2 separate regions of the Homo sapiens genome follow, and region 1 is linked to region 2. Evidence: promoter capture Hi-C in 16 types of primary human blood cells and fetal thymus (Javierre and others, 2016). All regions are on one chromosome and are shown on one strand. The core of a region is centred on a gene start or on the middle of the fragment in contact, and the rest is flanking DNA. Distances in the headings are between cores, read along the strand shown.

Region 1 (5,506 bases), core at 848-3,347, 320 kb after region 2:
TAACTGGAACTACAGGCACGCACCACAACGCCCGGCTAAATTTTGTATTTTTAGTAGAGATGGGATTTCACCATGTTGGTCAGGATGGTCTCAATCTCTTGGACTTGCAATCTGCCCACCTTGGCCTCCCAAAGTGCTAGGATTACAGGCATGAGCCACTGGGCCCAGCCACGTAAGTCTTCTTTTGTGTTGATGGTGGTTGTTATGTGAAAGCAAAGGAAAAACCTGGGCTTGAGAGTTTTTCCCTACACAAATACTACAAGGACAAAGTAAGGAGCAGGATAGCAGAGCTGTTCTATAGCTCAAATGTATTGCTTCTCAAACATATCCACTATAGAACCTATACAGAGAGAACTTCCCACCCTCAGGCACTCATGCTCATTTTGTTGAAGACCTATGTTATCTTAATCATACAGTTTTCATTCTGCTCCAAAAATGTCTATTTGTTTTAATATAACAATATTTAATATTTATTTATTTATTTATTTTTTGAGACGGTCTTGCTCTGTCACCCAGTCTGGAGTGCAGTGGTGTGATCTTGGCTCACTGCAACCTCTGCCTGCCTCCTGGTTCAGGTGATTCTCCTGCCTCAGCCTCCCGAGTAGTTGGGATTACAGGCACGCACCACCACACCCAGCTAATTGTCTTCTTGGGGTTTTTTTTGTTGTTTTTTTGAGACAGAGTCTCACTCTGTTGCCTGGGCTGGAGTGCAGTGATTTCAACTCATTGCAACCTCCGCCTCCCAGGTTCAAACAATTCTTCTGCCTCAGCCTCCCGAGAAACTGGCATTACAGGTTCCCGCCACTACACCCAGCTAATTTTTTGTATTTTTAGTAGAGACGGGGTTTCACCATGTTGGCCAGGCTGGTCCCGAACTCCTGACCTTGTGATCCGCCCACCTCAGCCTCCCAAAGTTCTGGGATTACAGGCGTGAGCCACCGCGCCCAGTCTTTTGTTGTTTTGGGGGGGGGGGCGGGGGGGGGCAGACAGAGTCACTCTGTCGCCCAGGGTGGAGTGCAGTGACACAATCCTGGCTCACTGCAACCTCTGCTTCCCAGGTTTAAGCGATTTTCCTGCCTCAGCCTCCCAAGTAGCTGGGATTACAGGCACCCACCACCACACTCGGCTAGTTTTTATATTTTTAGTAGAGATGGGGTTTTACCATGTTGGCCAGGCTGGTCTGGAACTCCTGACCTCAAGTGATCTACCTGCCTTGGCCTCCCAAAGTACTAGGATTACTGGGATTTTGGAGGCCTTGGCCTTCCAATGTACTGGGTGTGAGCTACCGTGCCTGGCCAATATTTAATATTTAATCACTGACCAGTTAAATTACTTAACTCACCACCTCCTCTATGACTATAACTGAAGTTCTAGGAAGATGGGTCATGTTTATCTTTCTTGTGACTCCAAGTACCCCGAAATCATACCACCTGATTCCCTAAGGGTATTCATATCCCAGTTTGAGAAACAGGGATCTAAGCAATTAAGCTAGTCATAACACTTGAAAGTGATTAACGTGTTCCTATAAACCCATTCCCTAAACTCTTAAAGGTTCGATTTCTCAATAGTTTTTAAATCAGCAACTTTTGGTATGCACTCTGTGTCAACACTCCTAAAAGAACCTGCAGGGCGTAAGTTATTTTTGGAGTGACAGAATACTACCACAGACCTTCTCCTTCCCATCTAGCAGGATAACAAGTTGCCCATTTGGAAAATAAAGGTTTGAAGAATAACAGAACTTTCATTCCTATTCCCTTCTCTTTATTTGCTCCAGGCAGAGCTTGTAAGAAAAATCTTAGTAGTCATTTAGATGATTCATTCACATAAGCTTATCTAATCCTGGCATTTGTAATTTCCACTTCTACATTCCTTTTTGCCATTACACATGTACGATTAAATTATTTTCACATTTTTCTAGGGTCTGAAAAAAATGTGCTTTCCGGTACCGTGAGAAGAGATAATTTTTACAACCAGAATCCCACTTTGTTGTTTATGAGATCCCAAAGCATAGTAGATTCCAATATTTATAGAAGGTCTGTTCCAAGTTCCATATAATGTCCATTATATTTTATAGCAAAAATTACAGGCTAAATTAAAATGATAATCACTGTCACACTCTGACGCAAAATGGGCAATGAGCTAGGCTAACTCAAATTAAGACAATTTTTATCCAGGATACCAGGTTCCCCAAGAACAGGATTCCATCTGTTTCTTATCAAAATTACAAGTAGCCACAGGTCATGGACTTTCTTTTCAGTTCATTTGCCAATAGTCAAAATACACATTCCAAGGGTTTCTACAGAAAAGCAGCCACAATTTCCTGGGATCTTTCTATGTACATGTTCAGAATAGTACTTAAAGCTTTACAAAACACATTCTCATTAACGGAGAATAGTCTCTGAGATTGGTGGTGTTATTCTCTCACAAGTGAGGACTACAGGAGTAGACAGGTTAAAGTAACTTGCCCCATATTACCCAGCTAGTATATCATCGTAAAGAGTTTCAAACCCAGGACTCTGATTATGAAGCCTGTATGCTCTCAATCACCTGATATCCTGCATCCCCTATATTCAAGAATTAGCCAACAAATCCTCCAACTCCAGGAGGGTTATATTACTACCATTTTTAAGATAGAAAAAATGGAAATAGCACTTACCTCTCCGTGGCTGCAAAGTCAGTTTGAGGAGGGAAAATAGAACCCAGCTCTCAAGCCCCTGGTCAGCAATCTGTCCACTAGCGCATCTTGTTCTTTGGCTTCAGGTCCGTAATCATTCTAAAAGAAAAGCACAAATCATTTTATGAAACACTAAATTCATACAAATACGCATATAGTATGAAAAAAAATGAGGGAAAACTGAAGACAGAAAAAATTGGGAAAGAAACAAAACACCTGTTCATGTCATGTCACTAACCGAGCCATTCCATAAATGTCCACCATCAAGCCAATAACAAAACATTCATTTATTTTTTCACACATTTGCTAAATATATAAAGGACTAAAGGTTTCTAAGTAGCAAAATAGTACTCCAGGCTCACACCAGTAATCTTAACGCTTTCGGAAGCCAGGGTGGGAGACTCACCCAGGAGTTTGAGGCTGTACTGAGCTGAGATTGTGCCACTGCATTCCAGCCTGCTTGACAGAGTGAGAGATCTTGTCTCAAAAAAAAAAAAAAAAAAAAAGGCCAGGCGCGGTGGCTCATGCCTGTAATCCCAGCACTTTGGGAGGCCAAGGCGGGCAGATCACGAGGTCAGGAGATCGAGACCAGCCTGGCTAACATGGTGAAACCCCGTCTGTACTAAAAATACAAAAAATTAGCCGGGTGTGGTGGCAGGCGCCTGTAGTACCAGCTACTTGGGAGGCTGAGAATGGTGCAAACCTGGGAGGCAGAGCATGCAGTGAGCCGAGATCGCACCACGGCACTCCAGCCTGGGCGACAGAGCGAGACTCCGTCTCAAAAAAAAAAACAAAACAAAACACTCCACTGCAATATTGCAACCAAATAATGGCACACATATTCAAACTACCAAAAAATTAATTATTGGCTGGGCGCAGTGGCTTACGCCTGTAATCCCAGCACTTTGGGAGGCCGAGGCAGACAGATCACGAGGTCAGCAGATCAAGACCATCCTGGCTAACACGTGAGACCCCGTCTCTACTAAAAATACAAAGAAAAAAATTAGCCGGGTGTGGTGGCGGGTGCCTGTAGTCCCAGCTACTCAGGAGACTGAGGCAGGAGAATGGCATGAACCCGGGAGGCGGAGCTTGCAGTGAGCCGAGATCCTGCCACTGCATTCCAGCCTGGGCAACACAGCGAGACTCCGTCTCAAAAAAAAAAAAAAAAAATTAATTCTTATGGCTGCAGTAATGGCTCTCTAACAGTTTATTTCCGTATCTTTAGCAAGTAGTGGTCTTACTGATTAAGTTTGTTCATGCCACAAGTAAAGGCTATGCTTTCCAGTTTAGTAAGATAACTGGGGAAGCCAAGGCAGGTGGATCACCTGAGGTCAGGAGTTTGAGAACAGCCTGACCAACATGGCGAAACCCCATCTCTACTAAAAATACAAAAATTAGCCAGGCGTGGTGGCACACGCCTGTAATCCCAGCTATTCAGGAGGCTGAGGCAGGAGAATCGCCTGAACCCAGGAGCCGGAGGTTGGAATGAGCCGAGATCGCGCCACTGCACTCCAGCCTGGGCGACAGAGCTAGACTCCGTCTCATTAAAAAAAAAAAAAGATAACTGGCAAAAGGAGCTTTTACTGACCTTTGAAAATCCTAGAAGCATAGCAATGAAACAGTTTTTTTAGTCGAATAACGGAATACTTTGTTAGATGGCATCTTTTCACCCTAAATTACAAAATGAACTGTCAAGCTTCAAGCAAAGGTAGAGTGGAACCTACCTCTAAAGAAAAAGAAAGAAAGAAAGAAAGAAAATCCCAGGCCAGGCACAATGGCTCACACCTGTAATCCCAGCACTTTGGGAGGCCAAAGCGGGCGGATCACGAGGTCAAGAGATTGAGACCATCCTGGCCAACATAGTGAAACCCCGTCTCTACTAAAAATACAAAAATTAGCTGGGCATGGTGGTGCAGGCCTGTAAACCCAGCTACTCAGGAGGCTGAGGCAGGAGAATCGTTTGAACCCAGGAGGCGGAGCTGCAATGAGCCAAGATCGTGCCACTGCACTCCAGCCTGGCGACAGAGTGAGACTCTGTCTCAAAAAAAGAATAAAATAAAATCCCAAATGAAATAAAGAGCTAAATTTGAACTAAGTGTTTCCAAATAGGCCAGGCACAGTGGTTCACGCCTGTAATCCCAGCACTTTGGGAAGCCAAGGCAGGCGGATCACAAGGTCAGGAGTTCAAGACCAGCCTGACCAACATAGTGGAACCTTGTCTCTACTAAAAAAAATACAAAAATTAACCAGGCGTAGTGGTGTGTGCCAGTTATCCCAGCTATTCAGGAGGCTGGGGCAGGAGAATCGCTTGAACCCAGGAAGCAGAGGTTTCAGTGAGCCAAGATCACACCACTGCACTCCAGCCTGGGCAACAGAGCAAGACTCAGTCTCAAAAAAAAAAAGAGTTTCCAAATAATATAGCCAGGTGTGATGGCTCACACCAGCAATCCAGCACTTTGAGAGGCCACAGCAGAGGACTGCTCGAGCCTAGGAGTTCAAAGCCAGTCAGGGCAACATGGCAAAACCCCGTCTCTACAAAATACATAAAAATTAGCCAGGCAGGCCGGGCACAGTGGCTAACGCCTGTAATCCCAGCACTTTAGGAGGCCCAGGCGGGTGGATCATGAGGTTAGAGTTCGAGACCACCCTGGCCAACGTGGTGAAACCCAGTCTCTACTAAAAATACAAAAACTAGCTGGGCATGGTGGTATGCACCTGTAATCCCAGCTTCTCAGGAGGCTGAGGCAGGAGAACTGGTTGAACCCGGGAGACGGAGGTTGCAGTGGGCCACCATCGCACCACTGCACTCCAGCCTGGGTGACAGAGGAAGAC
Region 2 (5,623 bases), core at 3,045-5,544:
GAACTTACAGCCTGGATGGCTCCACACCAAGAGTCCCTTGATACATGACTCTTAGGATGCCCTGAGAGGCCATTTCAAGGCTGGCAGCTTGGAAAGAAAACTTTCTCCCAGCAAATGAAAACATCACATGTTTCCACCTTAGCATCACATCAGACACCATGGCAACAGAGGGCTGTACCAAGAATTAGCTCAGTGATGACCTAGCCAACACAAACCGGCTTAATGCTCCTTGAGTAAGATTCCTGGAAGGAAAGGGAGTTCAAATAAATAAGTCTCTCTCCAGCTCTCAACAAGCAGAACTGCTTCCCTTCTTCCAGAGCTGTACTTTTTCTCAAAAATTTTTCCCCATGCCAAGATACACAGAGAGAATGATAGAATGATACTATTGTATAACACCCGGGAGTCAGTGGAGACAGCTGTTCTCAGCTATCCTGAAGCTTAAGGGTCGATACTTTGGCACACCTATAGCCCATTCACATCATACAGCTGAGAAGCTGTGAAGAGGACCTAAGTTGCCCATATTACACACTCACACTTCCAAAGTAAAACAGAAGGCCAAACCAAAGTCTCACTCATTTAACTATGAACTTGTGATTATGATAGAGAACTCCAGCACCTACTTCTGTAGGGGCATTCTGTTCTAGATGCCAACCAGATGCCTGAGGTGAAGTGCAACTGGAGCTCAGTGTCAGATGCAAACAGGTTTCCTGAAGGCTGCACTTTTTCTAGCTCATTTATGCAACTTAACAAGCACAAAACTACAATTAGACCTAGACAATATGCTTATTCAGCAAACCCACCCTCTAGTGAATCAGCATTCCAAATCTCTTCTAGGGGTATGGCCAACTGAATCGACCCTGATTTAGAGGCACCATATTGCGGGAGGCTGAGGCAGGAGAATCGCTTGAACCCGGGAGGCAGAGGTTGCGGTGAGCCAAGATTGAGCCATTGCACTCCAGCCTGGGCAACAAGAGCAAAACTCCGTCTCAAAAAAAAAAAAAAAAAAAAAAAAGAAGCACACTATTGTCAGTTTTCCCCGATGACCAGAAATGACCTTGAGGAAATCACACAATACAAAGCAGCTTCCTACACACAACTAACCCTGAAGAACAAACACGCTTATTAAGACAAGACCTTCTAGCCGGTTGTGGTGGCTCATGCTTGTAATCCCAGCACTTTGGGAGTCCGAGGTGAGTGGATCACCTGAGGTCAGGAGTTTGAGACCAGCCTGAGCAATACGGTGAAACCTCGTCTCTACTAAAAATACAAAAATTAGCCAGGTGTGGTGGCAGGCATCTGTAGTCCCAGCTACTGAGGAGGCTGAGACAGGAGAATTGCTTGAACCTGGGAGGCGGAGGTTGTAGTGAGCCGAGCTCACGCCATTGCACTCCAGCCTGGCGACAGAGCGAGACATCATCTCAAAAAAAAAAAGAAAAGAAAAAAGAAGACAAGACCTTCTTTTGACAAGGGAAACTCTGGGAAGAGGAGCCATTAGTAATAAAAGTGGCTTCCATTAACTGAGTGCCAACTTTGCTAAGGATCTTATATGTACCATCTCACTCCTCTCTACAAGCACATGTAGTAGGCACGATGATTCCTATTTTGGAATAAGGAAATTAGGACTTAGAGAACCTCAAGATTTCAGAAAAGCCAGAAACTGAATCCAGGTCTTTCTGACACCAAAGCCCATGCTTCTAGGCATGAGACCACAACAGGAGTCCACAAGGCAAGGCCTTCTCACTGGACAAAGGAGACAACAGTTTTCTTAGGCAATGACAAAGATCTTCAATGAGGAAGCACAGTAAAGTTACCTGGGAAGTTTTCTCAAAATACAGATACCTGGCCAGACATGGTGGCTCACGCCTGTAATCCCAGCACTTTGGGAGGCTGAGACGGGTGGATCACGAGGTCAAGAGTTCAAGACCAGCCTGGCCAACAGGATGAAATCCCGTCTCTACTAAGAATACAAAAATTAGCTGGGCGTGGTGATGCGTGATTGTAATCCCAGCTACTCGGGAGGCTGAGGCAGGAGAATCGCTTGAACCTGGGAGGCGGAGGTTGCAGTGAGCCGAGATCGCACCACTGCACTCCAGCCTGGGTGTCAGAGCAAGACTCCATCTCAGAAAAAAAAAAAAAATACAGATTCCTACCCCAGATCTTCTTCATCAAAATCTCAAAGAGTGGGTCAGGTGTGGTGGCTCTTGCCTGTAACCCTAAAACTTCGGGAGGCCAAGGTGGGAGGACTGCTTGAGCCCAGGAGTTCGACACCAGCCTCGGCAACATGGCGAGACCTCGTCTCTGTTTAAACAAAAAAAAAAAAATCTCAGCCAGGCATAGTGGCTTATGCCTGCAACCCTAGCACTTTGGGAGGCCGAGGCAGGTGGATCACCTGAGGTCAGGAGTTCGAGACCAGCCTGGCCAACACGGTGAAACACCATCTCTACTAAAAATACAAAATTAGCTGGGCATAGTGGTGCTTGCCTGTAACCCCAGCTACTCTGGGGGCTGAGGCAGGAGAATCACTTGAACCTGGGGGGTAGAGGTTGCAGTGAGCCAAGATCGCGCCATTGCTCCAGCCTGGGCAAAAAGAGCAAAACTCCGTCTCAAAAAAAAAAAAAAAAAAAAACTAACTCAGACAGTAAGGCTCTTGATTTTGTATCACAAAATTATCCCAGGAGATTTTGGACTATCCAGGATTAAGAGGCTGTACTACCTACCACACACATACGCTGGCATTTGCTGTGCTCATCTTAGATCCTAGCCCTGATAGGTGCTCAAAAATACAGTTGAATCTATCCATTCATAAGTCAGCATTCAGCAAATGCTACTGGAGGCTAGCCCCTATTTTATGCCAGGCACAGAGCCAGACATATGCAGACAGAAGACCACCATGTGACACAACAGGATGTACTCAATAGTAGCAGCATGGATATAGAGGAGTTAATGGTTACATGCCAAGCAAGGTAGATTTTTTTCCTAGGAAGTGACATCTCAGGTGGATTTTATAGGACAGATGTAAGTTTCCAACACTGGTAGGTGGTCGGTGGGGTGGAAGGCAGTGTATAGCAAACTGAGAAAACTGCGTTATCTAAAGCACAAGGGGACCAAGCACAGTGGCTCACGCTTGTATTAATAATCTCAATATGTTAGGAGCCTAGGCAGGAGGGTCTCTTGAAGCCAGCTCTGGCAACAAAGCCAGACTCCCTGGCTCTACAAAAAATTTTAAACTTAGCCAGGCGTGGAGGGGAGTGCCTCTTGTCTCAGCTACTCGGGAGGTTGAGGCGGGAGGATCATTTGAGTCCAGGAGTTCAAGGCTGCAGTGAGCTATGAATGAGCCATTGCACTCCAGCTTGGGCAATAGAGGCCTTGTCTCAAAATTAGTAATACTAAAACACAAAGGTATGAAACCAGAGCTAACAGGAGCGCCACACGTTTTAACAACAATAAACTACGTAAAGGGAGCACAGAAGTGCTCCGGTGTTGATTGGCTGGTTAAACCTTCACCAGATTACGAAGAGCCCTGAATGCCTTGCTAAGAAGTGCGGCCTTTGTCCTGAAGGCACTAAGGAACTAGTTTCAGGCAGTGAAGGACTTACTCAGATTTTCAGGTGGGAATTATCACTTCAGCCGCTTTATGGAGGGGGACTAAGTGTGGGGGACTAGGCTTCCCCTTGCAGGTAGAGGAATGACAAGCTTGCCAAGCAAGCAACCCAGCTGGACTCAGACCTGCTATTTCCCAGCCTGCACAAGGAAGCGATCAGCTGCCCCGCCGGCCCCTGGCAGACGCAAAGGAGGGGTGTGGAGTAGGCGCCGGGCGCGAGAAGGCAGTAAGGACAAGGACAACCAGGTTGGATCAACCTGACCCGCTCTGGACGCGGGGCGGCTGAACAGCAAGCAGGCAGGGCAACCGACCACGTCCACCAGGCCCAAGCGGGCCTGGAGACGGGCTATCCAGCACGACAGCACGTTCCGAGGCCAGTCCAGACTCGGACGCCGGGAACCCGAGCAGCCATCGCCCGGCCTGCTCTCCAACCCTGTAGGCCCTGGCGCACGGGGCACGGGCCGACGCTGCAGGCTGACCAGGGGCAGGCCCCGGAGCGCCAGAAAGCGACCACGACCACAGTTCGGCTGCCCCTCCCGCCCGTCGGGCCGTCGTCCTGGGCCGGGCCGCCTCACCTCGCGCGGGCGGCGGGCTCTTCGGCGTCTCGGCGGCTCTGCCGGCCATCTCCGGGCAATGGCAGCGGCCGCCGCCGCCGCCGCCGCCGCCGCCATTCTCGGGCGTTAGCGTCGTGGCGTCATCACAGCGCGCAGCTGACGCCAAAACAAGCCTACGGGGCGGGTCGGGGGCGGGTCGGGGGCGGACTCTCCCGAAACTGGGCTACGCGGCTGGCGGATCTCCGAGCGTGGCCTGCCAATCAACCTCTTCGGGGCGGGGACGGGCACTCTCCTGAAGGGGTGGGTCTATTTGTCGCTCAAAGTAACTTGACCGCTGCCTGCGAGACGGGTCGGTGATAGAAAAAGGAAGGATCGCGGGAAATAGGGAGAAAGTTTCAAGTTTCTGGTTGGGGGAAAGGGGACTCTGTAATGCGAGCTTGGGTAAACAATGCTTTCCAACAGAGGTTTCTGGAAGTGCCTCTGGAACTCCGCAAAGGATAGACTTAATTTTCATTAACAAAATCTATTTTTTAAAACTGCACTTAGAATAATTTCAACACTCCATGTGTTGAATTTGGCCTCCATCAAAGAAGAGATGCAAAGGGTTAATTTGTAGATAGGTGAAGTCAATCTTGGGCCAACTTCTGGACTCATGGTTATTTGTTGTTGTTAATTTAATTTATATGCCGAGTCTGAAAAGCAAGCGGATTTTTAAAAAATTGTTACCATTCACAATGACTTCTCTATAGGATCAGAACTGGTTCACTTTACAGTCAACCCAACTTGGAGGGGTTAAAATAGGTGCTGCAGATGGTAAGTGCATTGTAACCTCCATCCATCTTCCCCATTTCAGTAGCTCTGTATTCAAATCTTTATTGAGTATGTACTTTGCACATGGAACTGTCTTTGATTGACTGTATAAGCTAATGTTATACTTTAAACCTAAAAATAAATTAACACCAATAAAACATTGTCGTCGGCTGGGCGCCACTGCTCACACTTGTAATCCCAGCACTTTGGGAGGCCAAGGCAGGTGGATCACCTGAAGTCAGGAGTTTGAGACCAGTCTGACCAACAAGGTGAAACCCTGTCTCTACTAAAAATACAAAAATTAGCCAGGCTTGGTGGCAGGCTCCTGTAGTCCCAGCTACTCGGGAGGCTGAGACAGGAGAATAGCTACAACCTGGGAGACAGAGGTTGCAATGAGCTGAGATTGCACCACTGCACTCCAGCCTTGGCGATGGAGTGAGACTCCGTCTCAAAAAAAAAAAAAAAATTGTTGTCTATTTTATGTAGTAAGGTTTCTTTCTTTTCTTTTTTCCTGAGATGGAGTTTCGCTCTTGTTGTCAGGCTGGAGTGCAATGGCACAATCTCGGCTCACTGCAACCTCTGCCTCCCAAGTTCAAGCAATTCTCCTGCCTCAGCCTCCCCGAGTAGCTGGGATTACAGGCGCCTGCCACCATGCCCG

The links. Contacts are between HindIII fragments. The CHiCAGO score rates a contact against its expected background, and 5 or more counts as called.
Region 1: a fragment that was not itself captured here is called in contact with the fragment with the promoter of PSKH1 in region 2 in 1 of 17 cell types (erythroblasts); the score reaches 5.4 in erythroblasts.

The regions. Positions count from the first base shown.
Region 1 is chr16:67,568,415-67,573,920 of GRCh38, reverse strand. CTCF (CCCTC-binding factor) reads right to left here. Exons shown (of 12, transcript NM_006565.4): 2 at 2,657-2,773. Among named protein-coding and RNA genes, the nearest start is that of CTCF, 8.6 kb to the right of the region's middle. The HindIII fragment of the contact is 533 bases long and covers 1,831-2,363 here.
Region 2 is chr16:67,891,925-67,897,547 of GRCh38, reverse strand. It overlaps PSKH1 (protein serine kinase H1), which reads right to left and starts at 4,294. Exons shown (of 3, transcript NM_006742.3): 1 at 4,177-4,294. RefSeq lists silencers at 4,048-4,167, 4,498-4,557. The HindIII fragment of the contact is 6,871 bases long and covers 3,696-5,623 here.